Linked DNA regions of Homo sapiens: region 1 is linked to region 2. Evidence: promoter capture Hi-C in 16 types of primary human blood cells and fetal thymus (Javierre and others, 2016). All regions are on one chromosome and are shown on one strand. The core of a region is centred on a gene start or on the middle of the fragment in contact, and the rest is flanking DNA. Distances in the headings are between cores, read along the strand shown.

What was found. The method cuts DNA at HindIII sites, captures the fragments that hold promoters and counts their contacts. A CHiCAGO score of 5 or more calls a contact.
Region 1: a fragment that was not itself captured here is called in contact with the fragment with the promoter of PIGP in region 2 in 2 of 17 cell types (total B cells and naive B cells); the score reaches 6.4 in total B cells.

What each region holds. Positions count from the first base shown.
Region 1 is chr21:37,465,800-37,471,528 of GRCh38, reverse strand. The region is part of intron 2 of DYRK1A (dual specificity tyrosine phosphorylation regulated kinase 1A); the gene reads right to left. Among named protein-coding and RNA genes, the nearest start is that of KCNJ6-AS1, 50 kb to the left of the region's middle. The HindIII fragment of the contact is 1,530 bases long and covers 2,237-3,766 here.
Region 2 is chr21:37,069,954-37,075,394 of GRCh38, reverse strand. It overlaps PIGP (phosphatidylinositol glycan anchor biosynthesis class P), which reads left to right and starts at 2,324. Exons shown (of 5, transcript NM_153682.3): 1 at 2,324-2,395; 2 at 2,858-2,961. The coding sequence starts at 2,880. TTC3 (tetratricopeptide repeat domain 3) reads right to left here and starts at 2,141. Exons shown (of 46, transcript NM_001330683.2): 1 at 1,922-2,141. RefSeq lists silencers at 1,734-1,793, 2,014-2,333, 2,574-2,853 and an enhancer at 2,132-2,426. The HindIII fragment of the contact is 9,103 bases long and covers 1-5,148 here.

The DNA of each region.
Region 1 (5,729 bases), core at 1,752-4,251, 400 kb before region 2:
AATAAATGGCCCAATGTTATCTGCAAGTACTGTAGAGTAATGCACAGTCAATGTGCAGTAAAGGCTCATGGGGCCAGTGCCCACCTTGTGGAGCATACCATCTCTACCTGAATGTGGCACACACTCTGCAAAACAAAGAGAACAAAGCTCCCCAAACATAAGTTCCACCTCTACTTTCCACCACAGGGAATGACACCATTTCCTACGCAGTCAACGAGACTCAACACTCTGGCAGTCATGTTAGAGTTCTTCCCTTACAGCTGCCCAATCTTGCTCATTCCCTCTCCTAACAGAATACTCAAACACAACCTTTTCATCTACATCACCACATATAACACTTAAGATTACCAAAACAGATTCCTAATAGCTGTCTTTATTCTATTTTCAATTCTGGATCTACTCAATAACATGGCTAAAGTGACCTTTCTAAAATACAAATCTCAAGTCCTCTACCCCTGCTGAAGCTGGAATGTCAACTGCCCCTAGCATTGCTTTCAGACTTTAGATTCTCTTCTGTCTCTCCCCATTACAGTGAGGTCCTTAACTTTCCCAATCTACATGATTAATAATGTTTATTAAATAAGTAAAAGGATAGTACAACTGTGGTGAAAGATGGCCAACTTTTCTAAACATTTCATCATTCATAGTCAAAAATACTTTCATTCAATTCAATTCTGTAAAACAACCTTGTTCACTTTTTAAAAGAACTTCTACAAACTTACACTAAGGCAATAATCAATGATGTGCACAAAGATGCCAAGCATGTTTATCCTGGTGTTGTTTGTAAAAGCAAAACATTGAAAATCTAAATTCAAATACTGGGGGTGATGAGGGCTTTTAAATCTGAACATTAAAAAGAAAAAGGTAGGAAGGAATATAAATAAAAAGAATTGAGGTCCTTAATATATAAAAAGTTCTTATAAACAGTAAAAGACTAAGGCTGTGACTGGCAAATTTCTTAACCATTCAAAGCCTTAGATTCCCTATCTATGAAGCAGAGGTATTACTATACTGACCCTATTCCTTGTTACAAAGTTTAAATGAGATACCACCAACAGGCACACAGAATGAAACCTGTGACACACACCAAACACTTTTTATAAAAATGTTAGCTTCTGTTTTTATTATCTATGTCACTGTTATATACTATGTTTAAACTTATTCAATGCAATATTGTAGAAAAGAGGATAAAAATCATTAGCACAAAGCTTAAATTACTATCATAAAATCAATCTGTGTCACGAAACGGGGAAAAAATGGCCAGCATCCCAGAAACCCACCACACCACTCTATGACCCTTTCTAACCAACACCTCCTTCCTCTTCCTCAAAAGTTACTACTATCCTGACCTCCAAAACCCGATTTGTTTTTATTTATTTATTTTTGAGACAGAGTCTCGCTCTGTCACCCAGGCTGGAGTGCAGTGGCACAATCTCGGCTCACTGCAAGCTCCGCCTCCCAGGTTCACGCCATTCTCCTGCCTCAGCCTCCCGAGGAGCTGGGACTACAGGTGCCCACCACCACGCTGGCTAATTTTTTGTATTTTTAGTAGAGACAGGGTTTCACCATGTTAGCCAGGATGGTCTCGATCTCCTGACCTCGTGATCCACCCGCCTCAGCCTCCCAAAGTGCTGGGATTACAGGCGTGATGTTTTCATATAAGCAGGTGATACAGTTTGGATCTGTGTCCCTGCCTAATTCTCATGTCGAACTGTAATCCCCAATATTGGAGGAGGGCCCCGGTAGGAGGTTATTGGATTAGGAGGGTGGTTTCTAATGGTTTAGCACCATCCCCCCTAGTGCTATCCTCGTGATAAGAGTTCTCACGAAAAAAGGCTGTTTAAAACTGTGTGGCACCTCCCCCTTTTGCCTGACTTTGCAGGCCATGTAAGACATGCCTGCTTCTCCAACGCCTTCTGCCATGATTGAAAGTCTTCCTGAAGCCTCCCCAGAGGCTTTCATGCTTCCTGTACAGCCTGAAGAAAGAACCATGAGCCAACTAAACCTCCTTTCTTTATAAATTGCCCAGTCTCAGGTATTTATTTATAGCAGGGCAAGTACAAACTAATGTAATAGAGTAGAATTGTTTACTTCATCTTATGCCTATAAACTGCAGTTTGTCCATTACCTTGCTTTACAACAATATGGACAAATGATAATTTATCCATTCTACTACTGACCGACACCTGGATTATTTCCAGTTTGGGGCTACTATGAACACTGCCACTTGTAAGCTTCTTGTTATGCATCGTTTGGTATACACAGAGATGCTGTCCTGTTGTTTTTCTGGTCTTTTTTTGTTCCAATCAATTTATCCACTAGCAGTTTATGAAAAATTCTCACGCTCCACTCCTTCACTATGGCATGCAATCATCAGTCTAATTTCAGCCATTATGCTAAGTGTATTTGTGCTGTGGTACTCCAATGTGGTTTTTAATTTGCATTTTCCTAGTTACTCTGAGCATTTTTGCATGTCTATTGGCCACTTATACATCACATCGTGAAATGTACATTCAGGTTGCTTTTCTATTTTTTCTACTGAATTGTAAGCCCATTTCTTACAAATTTCTAGGATTTTTAAAAATCCATATTCTGAATATGATCGAGCCCCTATTGGTTACAGGCAGCTTGCCTTGTCACCCTCTTAATGGTATACTTTGATGAATAAAAGTTCTTAATTTTATCAACTTTTGCTTTACAATTAGTACTATACTTTTGGAATCTAAGAAATTTTTCCTTATATCAAAGTCATGAAAAAAATCTATTACCTTCTAAACACTGGGCTTTCTCTCTCACATCTAAATGCAAAATCCATTTGCATTTGACTTCTGTGTAAAATAGGAATCAAGTTTCATTTCCCCCTCCAAATTAACATCCAATTGATCCTTAACCAATTATTTAAAAGACAAACATTCTCCACTGCTCTGTAACCCCATCCTTATCATAAATCACATTTCCCTTTATGCTTGGATCTAGTTTTGGACTGCCTATTCTGTTCTACTGGATACAGACTTACCTACCTAGGTCTCTGTTCAAGAACTGGACACTACCTAAATTACAATAGCTTTAAAAATTTTAAGATCCAACAGGAAATTCTGTTCTTCTTCAAGAATGTTTTGGCAGGCCAGGCGCAGGGGCTCATGCCTGTAATTGCAGGGCTTTGGGAGGCCAAGGCGGGAATCACTTGAGCCCGAGAGTCTGAGACCAGCCTGGGAAACACACCACCACCTCATCTCTGTAAGAAAAAAAAAAAGCCAGGCATGGTGACGCACACCTGTAGTTCCAATTACTCAGGAGGCTCGGGTGGGAGGACTGCCTGAGCCCAAGATTTCAAGGCTGCAGTGAGTTATGATTGTGCCACTGTATGTGCTCCAGCCTGGGTAACAGAGACCTTACCTCTAAAAGAAAAAAAAAGTAAGTAAGTTTGGCTATTCCATGTAAGTTCCTGATTCACCTCATCAAATCCACCAAAACAAATCCATGTTGGGATGTTGAAATTGAAATTGCATTGATCTCTATAGAATGGTGGTGCCCAACAGAATTTTCCGCAATGATGGATTTACCTGTATCAGTAATGTAGCAAATAGCCACATGTGGCTAGTGAGCATCTGAACAATTTTATTTTTCTTTTCCAATCCTTATTCTTTCCCTTGCCTTATTCTACTTGCTGGGACCTTTAGTACAGTGATGATTTAAAAAGGAGGTAACAGACACTACTCTCACATATTCTCAATCTTGGAAATACAGCTTTCTTAGAAAGAAAGCTTTCAACATTTCTCCAGTATTATGGTTGCTGCAGGTTTTTAACAGATACTATTCCCAGATTAACAAAGTTTCCTTCTACTGCTAGTTTTCTAAGACCTTTTCCTCATGAATAGATGCTGACTTTTATTAAATGCTCTTTCTGTATCTACTGAAATGAGATGACCTTTCTGATTTACTCTGTTGATGTGGTGAATGACGCTGATTGATTTTTGAAATGATAAACGACTTTCCTTGAGCCAAGCATGGTGGTTCCCACCAGTAATCCCAGCAATCTGGAGGCCAAGGTGGGAAAATCACTTGAGCCCAGGAGTTTGAGACCAGCCTAGACAACATAGTGAGACCCCATCTCTACAAAAAAATTAAAACATTAGTAGGGTGTGGTGGCACATGCCTATGGTCCCAGTTACTCAGGAGGCTGAGGTTAGAGGATCACCTGGGCCCAGGAGGAGGAGGGTGCAGTGAGCCATGATTGCACCACTTGCACTCTAGCCCAGGGCAAGATCCTGTGAAAACAAACAAAAAAAGATTTTCCATTTCTGGAATGCGATTTGGTCATGATTTTATGCGTGTGTGGTAGATTCACTGGTGAAACCTTCTGGACCAGGAGTTTTGCTTGTGGATAGTTTCCGTTTTTTTGTTTTGTTTTTTTTTTTTTTTCTTTTGTAAATCCCAAAGACTTCAAAACTAGTGGGTAGCTCTTTCCACTAAGGATCATGTTTAATAGGACTATTCAGATTTTCTATTTTCTGCTGTGTCTGTTAAGTTGTAGTTTTCTAATAGTATAACTTCATCTAAATTTCAAATGGACTGACATCAAGTTTTTATAATATCTTCTCATAAGCTTTTGTGATATCCTCTTCACCTCAACATTGGTTAATGAGGTCTTCTCTTTCTTCATGGTCCGCCTCATCAAAGGTTTAATTTTATTAAGTATGCTGTCTTATATAGGTATTTTTTTTTAAATTTTGGTCTCATCTTGTTCTATCAGTTACCAACAACAATGTATTAAAAATCTCCTACTTAAAGTGTTATACTGGATAATACAAATTCAGGGTTGTTATGCCTTCCTGATGAATAATACCTTTTATCATCATAAACTGCCCTCTTTATTTCTAGTAAAGCTTTTTGCTTTATCTGTTATCAGTCTGACTACACCAAGCCTTCTCTGCATCAATTTTTGTATGGTATGTCTTTTGTCCATCTTTTTACCTTTACCTTCTTCTGTTTCCTTGTATTTTAGGTTTATCTCTTGTAAAGAGTATGTGGTTGAGCTGTATCTATAAATGAACACTAACAATCTATTTGTTCCAACTGTTTTATGTTCCTTTTCCTTTCTTATCTTTTGCTGGAATTTTTTATATCATCTCCCCATATTTTTATTTTTTAGTTACCTTATATATTACAATATTACAAAAGATTATGCATCCTTGACTAATCAAAATCTAATTACTCCCTAAACTCATCCACTATGTTGATTTCTGTTTTAATTCTGTTGCTCTCTCATCCATACACATATGTGTGTATATCTACTGTATTCACAAGACATCCAAATGACCATCCAGCATGGATAGAATCAGACTGAAAGATGCATCTGGAAGGAAAGATGGGTAATTCTGTGACATCCAGATAGCTATGAAAGAATTACAAAGAAACAGGTAGTTCCCTTGATTACTGCTGTTATCACTACCCTCCTGAAATACTTGTTTCATTTTTTGAATCTAGATTGAGTGAATTATATGCATTAAATTCAACAAGCACTTACTGAGGGGCTGCATCAGCACTGTCTTGCGGAGGTGACAATGCCATTCATAATCTGTAACAGCACTTCTTGGACTTTAATGTGCCTGCAAATTGTTTTTCAATCTTTTTAAAAATGACGGTTCTGATTCAGTAGAGCTTGAAAGTCAACATTTCCTTTTTTTTTTCTGAGACAGAGTCTTGCGCTGTTACCCAGGCTGGAGGGC
Region 2 (5,441 bases), core at 1,075-3,574:
GTGCACAAGCAGACAAGTACAAAGATATTTATTGCAGGACTGTTTTTAAGAGTCAAAAACTGAAACAAGTTCAAAGTCTATCAACAGGGGAATGTATAAATAAATATGGTATATTCATACAACGCAATTCTATACCAGCAATTAAAATGAATGAACCAAAGATAACACAATCATTCAATTTGTTCATATATAAACCTCAAAATATGATGCTGAGCAAAAAAAAAAAAAGCAAGTTGCAAAAAGGCATGTATATTTTAATGCCATTAAAGTTTAAAAACAAACAATAATATATATTGTGTATGGATTCACCTTGATCAAAGTATAAAATATGCAAAGTAAAGATATACACAAACCTCAACGCAGTGGCTATCTCTAGAAAAGGAGGGGAAGGAACTGAGAGCAATTTTATTTCTTTAAAAAAAAAGAGTATCTGAAGTAAATTTGGCAAAAGATTAAATAATCACGTCTGTAAAATCTGAATCATGGATTGGTTAGCTCCCCCTCTGTATTTGATATCTGAAATATTCCAAAAATTAAAAGAAAAAAAGGAAAATTAGACAATAAGAAAATTGGGCAGAACAAAGACACCAAAACGCAGCCCTTGAGCGCAGAGCACGAAACCTTGAGCAATCGGAGCAGTAGCTGGGTCTCTAAGGGGTTTGAAGTTTCTTACCCTAGGTATCCTTATACTATATCCCATTTTCCTTAGGATAAATCGCAAATTTCTTGCAACAAAAAATGTCCTAACTAGAGTCGTAGTTATAAGGAAAAGGCTCTCTCCGGAGGAGTAAAATCTGTAAAATTTCTACCTTGTTTCCCTCGCCAGGATCTTGGGCAAAATGGAAAGAGATTTAGGTGAATGCCATAAAATACTCTATAAACCATTAAATATCATCAAGAACGCCTAAGGACCGCATCGCCCAGTAGGAGAGTGCATATATTTTGAAAGGTCTCTGCAACTGAGGGGGTTTTGGCGTCCAGGGCGCCACTGGAAAAGGCACGGCGCACTGGTACCAGCCCAAATTCACCTACGTCTCGGCTTCATTTTTTATCTTTGATCCCCCTATTCTGTCTCCTGAACAGGCTGGCTGAAGAGGCCACACTGGCAGCGTCAACACTGCGGAGCAGCTGGCCAGACTCGATCCTGTCCACCCCCCTTCCCATTAGCGTCTGTGGGAGAGAATGCTCAGAAAGAGGCGCGGGGGCGAGGGGAGCGGCGAGGTTACCCCCCTCCTGGGTCCGTTCCGTGGGGACAGGCCCTGGACTGGACTGCCAGTTCACACGAAAACAGGTGGCAACAGAGTCGTGACACGCACACACAGCAAGGGGTGTGCACGAACGTTCACGCTCACCAACGAAACCTGCACACAAGAGATACCCACTCGACAGAATTAAATCCGCACACAAGAGATCACGCACTCAACAGGACCCATGCGCAGACACTCTGCGTCACTCGGAGACACGCAAGGACGCACACTTGCGCGAGCAAGGCTCTAGGCGGGGGTCGCAATTGCAGAAGGCGCGGCCACGCGCGCTAGGGGACGCGCAGCCCACAGACAGGGGCAGTAACACAAAGGGGGGCCACCTGCAAGGCCGAGAGCGCCCACGCAGCCGCCAGGGAGCGCGGACACCGACACAAAAGGGGCGACGAGGCGACACGCGAGCGCCTCCACCCAGCGGAGGTGTCAGCCACGCACCGGCCGAGGCACGGGCAGCGGGGGGTTGCGCACAAAGGGACTACTCACACCCTCGCACCGGCATCCCAGGGCCTCGCTCGCGAAGGGGCACCAGACCAAGGGGGCAAACCCACTGGGGTAGGCAATGGCGGCCACACCCCCTCATCGCGCGGGACCCAACCCATGCAGACACAGTAGGCACCTCAGCGAGGGACGCGAGGAGACGCGCACACACCCACACTCACCACACACCCACGGAGGGGGTGTGGAAGGCCCCGCTCCCCCGGCATCTCGGCTGCAGCGGGACAAGGTGACACATCCGGGAGCCCGGCAGCGCGCCGGGTGTGCACTCACCCGGGCCCGCCGCCCGCGAGCCTCGGACGCGGGCAGCAGCAGCAGCAGCCGCCGCCGCCGCCGCCGCCACCTCCGGCCCTCCACGTCAGCCGACGGCGGGAGGGAGCGGGTGGCGGCGTTGAAGCGAGGTGCGTCACGTGGGCTGGCAGCGCGCGTGCGCAGTCGCACCCCACCGCCCCCTCCTTCGCCGTCGCGAGCCGCGGGATCACGCCCGCCCCCGCGCTCGCTGGCTCCCACCCGGGGAGGGTCGTTGTGCGCCTGCGCCAGGGTGGGGGTTGCCGTCGCGCCTAGGCCTTTCCCTCAGGTTTTCCTCTTCCCCACTGCGGCTCCCCAGTCGGCGCTTGCGCGGAGAACTCAGCGCTGAGGTGGCCGAGGTGTCGGGAGGGGCCTGGGTGGGCGTATGAAGGACCCGAGGTCGAGGGCCCCCCCATACCCCGCCTCGAATGAGAAATAGAAGTCTCCACGAATGGGCAGGGCCCGGGGCCTGGGCGCCGCGACCTAGTAGGCCCGCATGCTGGTGGGCGCCGCGCGAGCCTTGTTCCCTGCCCTCCCCTCCCACAGGGAGGCCACGCTTGCAGAGCTGGAGCGCGCGTCTATCGCCCCAGAACCCCCCTCCCTGCCCTATCCTCCGCCACCCCTTCTGTTGCGGGGCGCGCGCCAGCCTGGGTGTCTGTATGCGCTCGAGGCGGGGGCGCGGGTTGCGGACGGAGGCGCGGGAGGCGGTTCTGCGCGGCGGGGGCCGTACCCGCGGCGGAGCGAGGAGGCGAGAATGGATCAATGGTGCCACGGAGCACATCGCTGACGCTGATTGTGTTCCTTTTCCACAGATTGTCTAAAGCCCCAGGAAAAATGGTGGAAAATTCACCGTCGCCATTGCCAGAAAGAGCGATTTATGGCTTTGTTCTTTTCTTAAGCTCCCAATTTGGCTTCAGTAAGTACTTTCCTGATGGATGGCCAGGGGCTTTTTCTGGCGTTCAGTGACAAGGGAAGAATACATTGGTTAGACTGTGCACACATGAACTGTTGATTCTTTCTCCCTATGTCTCTTTTTAAGAAAATCTGAAGGGATCTCGTGTTTGCTGAGTGTTCCGTGTGCCAGCACTAGCCTAGGAGGTTTTAGTCTCTACAAATATTTATACAGCACCAGACGCGATGGCAAAGTGGATAAAGCCTGGTCCCTGCCCTTAAGGAGGTCGTGGTCTTGTGGAGGAGACAGATGGGTAAATCTACAGTTAATGCTCAGTGTGATGAGTGTCAGGGAGCACGGTGGAGAGACATTGAAACCAGACTGGAAAGTCAAGGCTTTCTACAGAGGCCTTTCCCCCTGGCACTGATGCTGATTAGGAAAGAGTAAGAGGGAGGGAAGAAGTGGAAAGGCCTTGAATGAGGGCGTGAGAGGGTTTGGACCCGAGGAGCTTGTGATGTCACCAGTGTGCCCTGCGGGATCTGGGGAACAGGAGAAGTAGGCCAGAGAAGTCGGGTTGAAAGGTGTGTCGTTTGCGTCCTGGATCTCCCTTAATTTAACCCCATAACATTCCATTTTACAGATAAGGAGACTGATGCTCACTAAGACACTAATATGCCCACTCACACAGCAAGTCCCAAGTCTCTCCCCAAAATGATTTGAGAATTTTGAGGCACACAAAAGGGAGAAAATTGAGTGCCCGTGATCCAACGTTCTGCAACTGTTTGGAAACCAGGAAAGTGGAGGAGTGGTAGTACTTCTGAACCCTAACTAAAATATATCAGCCTGCACCATCAGCACAGCTTGCAGATGAATGTAATGGCCAGGCTATTAAAACTGAAGTGAAGTGAAGAAGTTACAACTGAGTTCGAATTCTGACTCCTCCACAGATTAGCCATGTGAGCTGGGACCCTCAGCAAATTTTTTGAGCCTCAGGTTCCTTATCTGTAAAAGGGTAGTGATAATGATGGTTATTAAATGCTTATGACGCATGAAACAGTTCTATGGGGTAGGTTCTGTTATTACTGTCCTTTAAAGATGAGCATCCTGTGGTTTCAGTAACTTGCTCAAGATTGCAAAGCTACTAAATAAAAGCCTTCTAAATTTGAACCCAAATACACTGGCTGACTTCACTCTGCTGCCTCTTCTGACTGTTGTGAGGATTAACGGGGGTAATTTATGTAAAGCACGTAAAATAATGCCTAGGAACAGTTAGGGACTTAATAAGTGTTAGCTACTGATGTTATTGTTAGCACTTTTGTAAATCCTTGTTCAAAGAGTATGTCAAGGATTAGAAGCTATATGAATAAATAAAAGCAATCACTTTAAGGCTTAAATTCTGGCCGGCCTGGTGGCTCACGCCTGTAATCCCGGCACTTTGGGTGGCCGAGGCAGGCAGATCATCTGAGGTCGGGAGTTTGAGACCAGCCAGACCAACATGGAAAAACCCTGTCTCTACTAAAAATACAAAATTAGCCGGGATGGTGGCGCATGCCTGTAACTCCAGCTACTCGGGAGGCTGAGGCAGGAGAATCGCTTGAACCCGGGAGGCGGAGGTTGCCGTGAGCTGAGATTGCACTTTTGCACTCCAGCCTGGGCAACGAGCGAAACTGTCTCAAAACAAAATTAAATTCCATCATACCCACAACCAAAAAGTAATTCAAGTATTTATTGGTGCTTACCATGTGCCAGGCACTGTTACAGGCCAGGAAGGACCAAAACAGCCAAAAATGCCCTGCTTTGAGTCTTCATTCTCATGCCGGGGGGAGATAGTCAATGGGCAAGTTAAATAAGAAAAACGTATATAGTATCAGGTGATAACGTACTATGGGGAGAAATTAAGCAAAGGGAAGGAGGATACGAAGTGGAAGGAGGGCCTTCTAATGTGCTTCTATGTCATCTTTTATTACTCATTCGTGAGCACTTGTAACAATGTAGTGAAAATACCAATTTTCTCTATTCACCACTAGATTTTAAGTTTAGGGAGGGCAGAAGCCATCTCTTTTGGATTCAATATTGTGTCTCACACACCTGACATACAGAATTCTGTAATACATATTTGTTAAGAAAAGAATGCATCATCACTGATGTAGTAGGTAGTTAAAATTTATCTTTGCCGCTTACCTTGGGTAGGTGATGTATCCTTTCTAAGCTTCCATTTCCTCATCATTTAAAATTGCATACTTGCCTTGGAGGATTGTCTTGGAGGATTATCTTAATGCATACAGAATGCTTGGAACTGTGCTTAACCCACAGTGAGTGCTCAGAACTTAGCCATTGTTGTTATCGTGGGATAACAGTAAAGAGTGCCGAGATTTCGGATTGAGGGAAATAACATTGTACTCTGGGAGATAGGGCAGAAGCTCAGTATGTGGTGGATGAGAACTAGGGTAGGTAAATTTCCCTTTGAGCAATTAAATGTCTATAATTACTTCAACCTTGTGGGG